Linked DNA regions of Homo sapiens: region 1 is linked to region 2. Evidence: promoter capture Hi-C in human tissues and cell types (Jung and others, 2019). All regions are on one chromosome and are shown on one strand. The core of a region is centred on a gene start or on the middle of the fragment in contact, and the rest is flanking DNA. Distances in the headings are between cores, read along the strand shown.

The links. Contacts are between HindIII fragments. The study calls those that stand out against the background at their distance.
Region 1: a fragment that was not itself captured here is called in contact with the fragment with the promoter of SLA in region 2 in 1 of the 25 tissues and cell types used here (bladder).

Annotation. Positions count from the first base shown.
Region 1 is chr8:132,876,851-132,882,948 of GRCh38, reverse strand. It overlaps TG (thyroglobulin), which reads right to left. Exons shown (of 48, transcript NM_003235.5): 6 at 980-1,086; 7 at 337-480; 8 at 1-135. Among named protein-coding and RNA genes, the nearest start is that of TG, 13 kb to the right of the region's middle. RefSeq lists enhancers at 1-25, 26-527. The HindIII fragment of the contact is 5,308 bases long and covers 1-3,904 here.
Region 2 is chr8:133,098,006-133,103,851 of GRCh38, reverse strand. SLA (Src like adaptor) reads left to right here and starts at 1,250. Exons shown (of 9, transcript NM_001045556.3): 1 at 1,250-1,299. The region is part of intron 43 of TG (thyroglobulin); the gene reads right to left. The HindIII fragment of the contact is 8,125 bases long and covers 1-2,901 here.

The DNA.
Region 1 (6,098 bases), core at 1-2,500, 220 kb after region 2:
GGGCGTCCACACACCAGCAGGGCCCTTCCGTCTGGCACTGCACCGCCTGATAGTCGCCATTTCGGCGGCAGCTTGGAACATAGGGGTGACCAAAGCTGGTTGCTGTAAACCGCTCCACTTCACATTTTGTGGGGCCTAGAGGAAATCCACACAGTAAAGAAGACAGTGTCAACAATGCTTGGTGTCTTCACAGCATGCACTGCTGTTTGCTCTTAACGATTCTTTTCATCTCTGCCCTCACTTTGGTGGAGCAGCCACACACACCATAGCAACTTTGAAACCCAAGAGGCGTCCCCCTAATGGAAACACGCACATTGTTGGCAGTTTATTACTTACATCGGAATCTGCCAGAGATGACTGATTGAACTGCGAGGAACCGTCTCTGCAGTATCCGGTACAGGGTGGTTTCAGTGAAGGTGGAAGGAAGGTCCAGGCCAGCAAAAATGGTGTCATAAATTTCATCCAGTAACAACTCCAAACCTGAGCAAAGACAGCAAGACTTTCAGAGATGGTCTCATTCAGAAAGGAAGCCCTGACCTTGTTGTGCAAACAGATACTGAGAGAGACAGCCTTCACCAGCATCATTAGGCAATAAGTCTGAACAACACTTTAACAGTTTCCAAAGTCAGAGCTGCTGTGGATGGTTGTGCAGGCTGTTCATAGAAACAAAGGAGCAGTGCTTATAGAATAAGAGATTAAATCCATCCTGTGCTCCACTCGCCAATTTCGGGGCTGCATCTGCCCAGAGCGGGGCACTTCTTTCCAATGTGCACAAAGGCACTATGTGGGCCAGCAGCAGCTGCATTCACCATACTGCAAGATGACAGTTTGCTAAGGTTGTGTCCTCCTCAATGCCCACAGCAGCCTGGCAGGGGGCAGGCAGTCACTCTAGCTGTGCTTTACAAGCAATGTTATCCAGGTTTTCAGACCTGAGGAATCACACTCCCTCCCTTCAGATCACCTGAGGGGTATCACTCACCTGTCTCAGCCAGTTCCCGCCCTTGGCTGTCAGCACAGTGGCAATACCCAGATACCTCAGGGAACCTCCTCTGGAAGGAACTGAAGGTCACAAATGCATCTGGAAACCTTGGAGAGAATGAGATTTACGGTCACCATTCATAAAGGCAAGTCATCACAAGCTTTTCCTGTAGAAATAAATGTGGCCAAGTCCACGCCTAGTGAAAAGGAATGTCTACTTTCTTATCACATGACAGTTGCTTCATGCTTCCTGCAGTAAATGCATTTCCTTTACAAATTAGTTTAACCTGGCTGGAACCAGGCTGGACCTTGTAAAATAAAGCTGTGCATAGCTGTCGTCTAACAATTAGCCGTTTTCCTCACTTATGGCATTTGACCAATTTATGCCCATGCGTTTGTCTCATAGGGCAAGGCAGAAAGCAGTCAAGGAAAATCGCATTAACTGGTTCCTTTCCTGGAATACAGCTCTCGAGACTAAAGGCCAAGTCTGCTTTACAAACATATGGTACATTGGAGATTATCTCATTTTGGGAGATCAAATGACTTCAGGCCCCTTTACGACTTTTCAAAAGCTTGAAAAGAAGCCAGCTGCCACCACAGGAAATCCTTAAGAAGGAAATGTATCCAGTCCCATAGTTGAAAAAAAACACAAATCAATACAGCATCACTAACAAGGGCTATCCATCTCTTTCCGTAAACTGAAGAAAGAGATTCTCTAATCACATCTGGCCTGGCAATTGTTATAACGAGCTCATCAACTGGGTTCCCTTTCTTAGAAGTAATAGAAAGGTAAGGTATAAAAAGCCATATTGAGGAGTTCTACCCCTGTGCAATGATTTAGCAACCAGAGAGGAACTGTTCATCTTTTATAACATTTAGAGATTTGTTTTCATGCCCTATATAACTATATAACTAATATATGAGGTCCAAGCATAATGTGTTTCTACCTATGTCTGAAATATATCTCCCAGCAATAAGTTAACGGAAGCAGCAGCTGTGTACAATGATAGGCCAATTGCTGTGCAATCTATTCTAGCAAAATATTGAAAAGAACCTTAATGTCCAATAGTAGAAAATTAAGAAGTAAATTATAGTAAATGCCCTAAATATAATAAAATGCTATGATTGAGGACAATGCTTAAAAATTCTAGCCAAAAGGGAGTGTGTATAACATTATGTAAAAAGGTTAGATTATAAAATGCCATATACATGTATTGCAATTACAACTGTACAACTGAATCAGTATTGGAAGTCAATGTGTGGTGTAGTAATTGCTGAGAGCCTGGCTTTGAATTTCCATTCAAGTTAATAACTATTATTTAATTTGAATGGAAATGGATATGCAAAACAAAAGCTAGAAATGCACTATAGGATTATGGATGAGGTTTTTTTCCATGCTATTAATCTATTGTTCTGTGTATGTGTGTTAAACAGAATGTTACAGTAAGCGTGTTGCATAACAAATATTAAAAACTCACTTTGCTTAGTTGCCACTAATAGGGAGGTAGGGGGTATATAATAAAAGTTCATTCATCAGAGCCTAGGATAATTCAATTTTAAAAATACTCATAATAGTATAATAATAACTTTTATTTACTGAGCACTACTTTGTAAAAGACTATCTGCAAAATGTTTTAATACACATTGATTCATTTAATCCACCTAACACTCCTAAAAGGAAGGTGGTACATTTTAATCCCCCTTTTAGAGATTAAGAAGGTGAGGTATATGGGCCACTGTCTTGAACTAGTGGTGAGAACTAGGGTTCAAACCCTGGTCTCATCCACTACATGCTGCCTATCTCTGCCAGTGGTGTTATTCAGTGTGTTTTTGGCTGCACCTGGCTTCTGTCCTACATCCTGCCCTGCAAGGCATGTGACTCTGTCTGACACTGCTCCATATGCCCAGCACCTCGCTCTTCCTGGCATCTCATAGATGTTGATGACACAAGTGCTGGCCCGAGGTGGGTTCTGAAACACATTCCAGCGTGAGGCACAAGTTTAAATCGTTTAAATCACTCTAGTTCCATGCTTCGCTAATTCAACCCAGAGACCCACCTCAACATCCTGGCTCATGGCAGACATGACCTCCACAGTCTTTGAGCCATCTTCATCCTACCACTTTATGGTCAGAGCCCCTCTCTGGGGGTTTCTGGTCTTATAAACTGCCCAGTACCTGGACCTACCAGTGTTTTTTGCATGGACCTCACTCTTGATATTCCTGCTTCCCGCACATTGGAGATCACCCTGTCTTCAGCTCTGGAGAGGGTCCTCCCACCCTCCCAGTAAGATCACCCTAAGGCCAGTTACTGCCTTCTGGGCTCTCTAGGGCTGTTCTTTGCTGACCTCTAGGACAGACACCCTGTGCTGCCATCTTTAATCCCTTCTTGCTAATTCTGTATATAGTGAGAAGAGCTAATATGATTGTTGCTATTAATTACTATTCATAAAATAATCACAAGTGATATGTATGAACAATCAGACCAAACACTCTCCATATTTGTCTCATTTAATTCTCACAACTCTTTAAAAATCTCCACTTCCCAAATGAGAAAACTGGGATTCTGCATGGTGATGTGACTGGGTCAAGATCATCCAGCCAAGACCAGGGGCCAAGAATCCCAAGTCCATTTCCAGTGCTCGTTCAACAACAGCAGGTGGCCAAAGGGTGAGACTACCACTCCAATAGAGCACAGTCCTTTGGGGGCCCTGCCCTGCAATCACCAGTGATTTCAAGCTCTGAATCTTCCCAATTTCCTGTGTGCCCACAATTCCATTTGATACAATTTGATTTCTGTGGCTAATTTCTGAAATGATATCACCATCTATGCATTTTGGACTCCTTCTCCAAAATAATAATTAGCACCATGAAGATTGTTTAGCTGTTATTCTGCTACTGTCAGTAGTGATTCACTGTCATCAGGGAACAGGGGTTCTGTCATGCTTTCAGCCTCCTCCTTATTAGATCTCCTGCCCCACATCAACCAAAAGAAGTCAAACTACTGAGACCGAACCCAAAGCCCTGATGAAAGCTGGAGAGTCAGGCTCCATCCCTAGCCTTGGGCCAGCTGGACCAAAGAATGTCCCCAAAGGAGGTGAGTTTGAGTGGGATTCTAAAGCCACGAATGGTGATTTGACCAGGAGATAACAGAGGAGTGAAGAACATATCTAGAAGGGTCGTTTGCATGCCTCCAACTTCAAGGTGGGAGACAGAACCAAGGTGTGGGCAGCAAGGAAAACTGAGATATTGGTAGTCACCGAGGGAGGTACAAGTCTGGTAGAGAATGCCAGGACCCAACATTCGCAGCCTCTGAAATACAGCACCTGGAGACACTTTTTGTTTTTTTTTTGTTTTTTTTTTTTGAGACAGAGTCTCGCTCTGTCACCAGGCTGGAGTGCAGTGGTGCGATCTTGGCTCAAGTGATTCTCCCAGGTTCAAGTGATTCTCCTGCCTCAGCCTCCTAAGTAGATGGGACCACAGGCACCCACCACCACACCCAGCTAATTTTTTGTATTTTTAGTAGAGACGAGGTTTCACCATCTTAGCCAGGATAGCGTCAATCTCCTGACCTCGTGATCTGCCCGCCTTGGCCTCCCAAAGTGCTGGGATTACAGGTGTGAGCCAGCGCGCTGGACCTGAAGATGCTTTTTATAGGCATTGGCCTTTGGAAACCACTGGTCCTTCAGCAGCAGGACATTGTCAAGTCAGATGGTCCCCTGTGGCATACAGTGTTCCCCCCTTCATGAGGACCCGAGGAACCAAGTTCCCTCCATCATCAATAGAAGAAAACATTGTGACCCCTGAGAAACTCTTATTTTTATCTTGTAGAAACCAAGTAACTTAGACTATTTTTTTCTTTTCTTTGGTTACAGGGATCCCAGAGCCAAATATGCAGCCCCTCACATTTGTTAGGACTGTGTAGAATGAGTGATGTGGGCCAATCTTTGCCTTGCCTTATTCTGATTTTCTACTTTTATTTTGCCTTCCTCATGATTCCCTCTAATTTCCATTTTTATCCTGTTTTGGGCATATCAGAAGAAAGGAGGAAGACAAAATCTACACAATATTTAAAAATTGAAAAATACCATATTTTGGACTACCACTCCAACAGAGCAATCACCAGTGAGTTCAAGCTCAGAATCTTCCTAATTTTCTGTATGCCCACAATCTAGTGGAAAAGGATGTTTGCCTTTTGTTGAATAAAAAGCAAAATCTCAGGGTGGCCATAGAAGAATCCTCAAGAAAGCAAATGCTAGCAGAGGGGCAAGGGGTGGCATTTCTGAGTTTATGCTCAGATTACAGCCAACCTAGACAGAGAAATTACAACCAAGGCTCAGAGGAATGCGAAATTCTGGTCTCCACTGGGCATCTGGTCTTGTTCATTCGCAGAGTACGATTCCTGCCTCCGGGCTCAGTCAGATTCTCTAACATCTCCCACAGGCAGTTCTTTGGAAATCTAAACACTGACTCACAAATGAGCCATGTATTTCATTCTGTCCTGCACTAGGGAGGGTGCTCCTTAAAAGAGCGGGCCGTACCGGGCATGGCTCACACCTGTAATCCCAGCACTTTGGGAGGCTGAGGTGGGTGGATCACTTGAGGTCAGGAGTTTCAGACCAGCCTGACCAACATAGTGAACCCCGTCTCCAGTAAAAACACAAAAATTAGCCATGTGGGGTGGCGCATGCCTGTAATCCCAGCTACTTGGGAGGCTGAGGCAGGAGAATTGTTTCAGCTTGGGAGGCAGAGGTTGCAGTGAGCTGAGATCCCATCACTACAATCCAGCCTGGGTGACAAAGTAAGACTCTGTCTCAAAAATAAAATAAAATAAAATAAAATAAGAGGGGGCCGTAGCCTAGCAGAGCGCCTGATGCATAGCCAACCACCACAGGTGTCTGTAATGAGGGTGATCTGGTGCTTCCCCAGTGAGGATTTCTCCATACAGTACCTTCCACATTCTGGTTACAATGCCCCTTTACCATATATTAAGACACATCTGATCCTTCTTCCCACTGGGCAATCTGGGTAGCATGGGTGGCTAAGGCATTTGAAGTTAGACTGGTTGCTAAGAAGTTTGAGTGTGTTTAGTCATTAAGGACAAGGGTTAATAAAGAAGCCAA
Region 2 (5,846 bases), core at 1-2,500:
GGTTACAACTGTGCCCTCTAAAGCCTAGAGAGAGTCCAGCGCACAGAAGCCTCTGAATAATCTATGTTGGAGAGATGCTGCATGGGTTAATGCTTGAATGACTCCTGACTTCACTGCTCCTTATGGTGTTAAGGGACAAGGACTTACTTCTCCATCAAGCACAGCTTGCTCAGGGCCAAGGGCTCACTGCACTTTTAGGAACTCACAAAAGTCTTTTCTTTCTAATTTCTTTTAAAATCAGAAGAAAAAATATAATAATAATGAAAATGTAATAATGAATCCAGCCTGGTTTACATTCATCCTTATAACAATGCAGTCATGAAATACAATATTTTAATATTTTGGGGGGGACAAGTCAGTCCTTCTGATCCTCAGCTTTCTCTGAACCATAATCCCAGCTCACAGGGCCCCTGGGGAGAATTAGACAACGTGACGTGTAAGCGTCAGCTGTGAGGGGTAATGTGGGGCTATAGCTCCAGGGTGGAGGGTTTACAGTGTGCAAGGGCATCCTAGAGCCATGAGACCTACAGGGCTCTCTGGGTGTTGGGAGATACCTCTTTCGCTTCTTATAACACTGCAAGAGACAGACAGGGTGGCTCTCACTGTGTCCATTTGAAGGCTAAAGAAACTGCAGCTCAGACCAGTTCAGCAACTCTCCTACATCGTGTGGCTAAAGCTAAGAATTGTGACCCATTTTTCTGAATCCAGGTCCCCGCGATGCCCTGGGTTCAGACCCTAACACCCTCCCGTCCCTGAGTGCTGGGGATTTAAGGCAGCAGTGCCTCCTTTCAGGAAATCACACACACACTGGAAACTCCTGCATACTCCTCTTACTATAATCTGTCACCAAAGACTGGATATTCCTGTGCTGGGGCTCGTGCCAGCGCCTCGGGCTGCCAGGTGCTGCTTTCCAACTCCCACATGGGCTGCCCTCCCCCTACTGCTACCCACAGGGCCCCCACTCCACCTGCTCCCAGACGAGGCCAACTCCTGGCCAAGCTTAGGGGCACAGCGGAGGCGCTCTGTTTCTGATTTTTCTCGCCTTCCTTGGAGATGCCTGTGCTTGGAAGGGAAGGCAGAACATTGCATCTTGGAACAAATCTGCTTTTGATCATGCAAATGAATGCCTGGATAATGTAGGCAGACTGTCAATTTCACCAGTTAGAAAGAAAGAGAAAAGGGGGAGAAATTCCCCATGACAGCGACTGATGAAGAATTTCAATAGAAAGCTGCTACTTCAGAAAATAAGATCATTTGCTGCGAATGGAGAACATCTCAGGCAGCCCTGATGCTCCACCGGTAGGTTGCTAACTTTGCTGTCATTGGGACCCCCTGGGTGGGCCATAGGTGGCCTGGGGTGGTATGTGGGGGAGGGTCTTCAGAGGGACTTGATGGATCCTGTACCCACCCTCCGTCTTTGGTCTGAAGAAAATGGGTGGGTCTCTGCTGGTGGTGAGTAGCTCCAGGGGGCAGGACTTGGGGTAAGAGGCTCCACTCCTGTCCCTCCGTGACTTCCCTGGGAAGCTGCACTGCATGTGTTTGTGGACTGGGATCCAGCTGATACTTATGCAGCGTTGGCATGAGTAGAGAGCATGCATTTGTGTTTACTACAATTTGGAAAATTGGTCTCAGGTCAGCTGAGGTGGTTCAGAGATTGGACGTTCTTTGTATTCCTGCTTTCTGTGTATAATTATCTGAAGAAGGGATAACAGCTTTGGACACTAATCTTAATATTAAAATTAAAAAATTAAGGGAAAAGAACGAACATTTATTGAAGCCAAACTATTTTCCAGATATTGTTGTGTATTTGAATTTTTGAACATCTTTATGAGGATATTTACTAATCATCTCCCAACTTCACAGATAGGGAAACTGAGGCTCAGACTCTGGGTAACTTGGATGCTCGTGATTGCAATCCAAGGACACCCAGGACACTCTCCCTGCTGTGTTGACACATGACCAAGGGAGCGGGGTCCTGGTCAGTTCCTGGCCATTGTGTCACTCCAGCTGACAGTGCTGCTATGGGGCCCAATGGCACCTGATCTCCACCTCCTGAGGTCTTGGAATAGATGTCCATCTCTCCATATAGTATGTATCAATGGTGTTTCAGTTGTTTGCCTTGTCTGTTATCATCTGACTGCAAGCCCTTCTGAGGGGAGGAATTCAATTTGTATTTTATGCTGAAACACCTGGCCCAGCATGACTAAACAAACAGGTGTTGGTGTTACAAAAACATGCTGGACACCCTGTTTAGGTGGATGTGGCAATTTACTGCAATTGATATGTCCTGTTTCTCAGCCCCAGATGGGGCAGGAGGGGCTGGGTGGGTATCAAAGGACAGAGGATGGAGTAAAAGGCATGGCTGAGATTGAGGCCCTCCAGAACCTGCCATCTTCAGGTCCTCCTTGGCTGATGGTGGTTGGACCCAGGTGCCATGGAGCCTTCTTGGGGCAAACAGAGAAATGCACAAGCCCAACTCTAAATTCAGGTTGGGAGTGGGCTGAGGCAAGGGAGGGCAATACAAGGGCACATTGGGTTGAAGTCCAGAGGAGTTTCCTCACTGTTGGGAGGGTGGGAGCATAGCTCATAACTCAGTTTCCACTTGGTTGTCCACTGTGCCCTCTTGCAGTTCTGTGTGGGGTAGAATCCTGAGGATCTCTCTAGGTGATGCTTGCGTATGGTGGGGGTAAGGTGGTGATAGCGCATCCCTGACCTAGTGTTTATCACAGATAGGGTAATGGGTAGAGCCTGCCACCCGCCACCCTCCCCACTCCTGCCCTGCAATTGGGGTCAGAGACCTGCAGTGGAGACTTGGCTTTCCAAAGGACTAGTTAGCTGACCTAGAGACACCCGGTAAACCTCACTAAGCCTTTCTTTCCCAGAAAAAAAATCGTGTTAAATACTGGTTCATGGTTCCCTACCTCACAGCCATACAGTTGAGATAACGTAAAGTAAGAGCATGAGTTACTTCACTTAGGCTAACCCCTAAGGCTATTGAAATTTTAAAATTATAAATAAATCAATAAATGACTACAGAAAAAAAAGAATGTGGGTAGAATTGGAAAGCCCTTTGCACATAGTAGCCTTTATTCTAGCTGGGTTTGTGTACATTTCAGTACCCAGCATACCGTTGATGGTAGATGGAAGGCTCTCAGAGGAAAGCCTGGCTTTTCCCAGAGTGACGTCATGGGAAGAGGATATTTGGAGGCAGATAGAACTGGGTTTTAATTCTGGTTTCTCTCTGAAAAATAGTAATAATAATCCCCACCTCATAGGGTAATAGTTGTGAGGGTGAATTATTTCATTGAAGACTTCCAGGTTAGGGCCCAGCACATAGTCAGTTCTTCATAATTTCATTCATTCATCCTAGTGAATGTCTATTGTGTGCCTGCTGTGTGCAATTTGTCTAGCAGAACTAGAAACATTTCTAGGCACCAGAGATATAGCAGTTTCAAACATTCTAGTTGGGGAAGAAAGACAACAGACAAATACATAATATGGCAGGAGGTTTGAGTGCTGGGGTAGGGTGTAGGATGTAGGGATAGAGAAGGCTGGGGATATGGCTTCCCTCTGAATCCAAGTGGTCAAGCAAGGTCTTTCTGATAAGCAGACCCTGAAGGGAGTAAGGCAGTGAGTTGTCTGGGAAGAACATTCCAGAAGAAAAAACAGCAAGTACCAGGACCCTGATATGGGATGTGCTCAGCCTATTTGAGAAACTCTAAAGGGATAAACCAGTGAGCCAAGAGGGAACAGCAGGAGTTAAGGTCAGAGAGCTAACAGAGGTCACATCAAATAGGCTCTGGCAGTTCATAGAAGACTGGAATTTTCCTCTGCATGAGAGGAGGCCACTGGAGAGAAGGCTTGGAGCAGAGGAGTAAAATGGTCTGACTTATAAAGGGATTGCTCTGGCTACTGTGCTTCTCATAGATTATAAGAGGCAAGGCAGGTGCAGAGAGAGAGTTGGGGGCTAGCACAAAAATCTCAAATAAAGTGGCTGGATCAGGGTGATAGCAGAAGAGGTAGGGGAGCAGGGTTTGGATTTGGGATACATTTGGAAAATACAGCCAGCTGGATTTTCTGATAGAATGCTGGTAGGGTATGAGAGAGCAGTGTCAGGAATGACTTTTGGTTTTGAGCCTGAGTACAGAAGGATGAGTTGTTTAGTTGCTGAGTTGTTTACTGAGATGGTGAAGACTACAGAAGAACATGCTGGTTGGGGATGGGAGCAGAGGTGGAATCGGCAGTCCACTTTGGGTGTGTTATGGATGAGACACTATGAGACATGTAAGTGAAGATGTCAAGTGGGCCATTGGCTAAACCAGTTCAGAGTTCAAGGGAAAAGTCCAGGAGGAATAAATCTGTGTGCAGACACATGTTTAGGAGATGATTGCATGCAGTGGCACTGAGCTGTGAGCTGGCTTCCAGTCCCACCGTCACTACTCTCCTGCTGCAGGTAGTCCTCCTCATCAATTAGCACCTAGATGAGTTCTTGGCAGGATGCAGGCTCACAAAAGCTGCTCAGTGGCTTCACTAATGCGTGTCCCAAGGGAATGAATGAAGAAGCGAAGCCAGAAACGAACGGTCTAACCAATGAACAAATGTGCTGGGGGAACACTGCCCTGTGATTGGTGTCTGGGATGACCGCCATGGAGCAGGGCTAGCAGCTGCTCTGCTGTGCCCTTAGAGAGGCTTCTCTATTTGGGGGTGCCCAACTTCAATGCTGGCTTCTCCAGCCAGGCCCCTGTTTGGCAGTGAGCCTCCTGCTGGTGGCCCCATCTTTCTTTGCAAGTAAACAAAGTAAGCTTTCCTTAAAAACCTTAGAGGGAAGCTCAATGAGAAGAATGCAAATGCATCCTTGAGTAGAGATCCCAGTCCTCTGGATTCAGGTCTCTGGCTGGACTGGTTAAGGAATTCAGGACAAAGTTAGGAAACTTCTAGACACTCCTGGGACCGTGCTTGAACCAGGGAAGCCCAAGGCAGCCATGAGCCCACAGTCATCCCTCTCACAATGAACGGGCATAATCAGAAAACATGAGCCTGGGCTACCCTCTGAACACCATGGTCCCAGATCTGCCAACAAGAACAACCCCCTCACCCTCCCTGATGGATGGCATTTCCACTGAGTTGGGAGAGGTCTGGGAACTAACCACAGGGCCGCCCTCCTCCCTAGCCCCATCAGCCCTTTCTAGGCTGATCCCAAGGCTCCTGGGAATATAAAATTAGTTCTTCCTCTCTTTCAAAAGTCGAAGATGGCCATGAAAAGTTTTCAGTACATGGTCCAAAGAACCAGAGCTGTGAGGACATGGTGTCTTGTGCACAGAGATTTTGCATCCCCTGTAGGAGGGTATCAAATAAGGAGGTGAGTGGGAAATTGTCCCTGGTCAATGGCCAGCTCCATCCCAGTCTGCCCATGCCTCAGAGTACTGTCTCCAGGGCGGACAGTGTTTAGGGGCAGCAAGAGAATACTAAGACTAGAACTTCCATTTCTTTCTCTTGCTTTAACATTCTTTTGATTCAATAAAGGGTTTATAATAATTCAGGGTATTAGTACAAGAGTACACATGTATATAATTTATACTTAAATAACTAAACTTACTATTTCTTAACTGATGAGGGGCTTGATCAGAAGCAACTTGAGGATCCCTGTTTTAGAGACTACAAACTCTGAGGCAGTGGAGGAGAGTGGCACATTTCCAGTGATTCCTGAATGGTTGTCTTGTCCAATAATAAAATCTCAGCCCCTCAGGGTAAGGGCTATGCTGTATGTGAGTGCTTGGCAGAAAAAATGTTGAAATGGATCAGGTACAAAAGGTATTTTGCCCTGGCTGTGAGTTAGCTAGATGCAA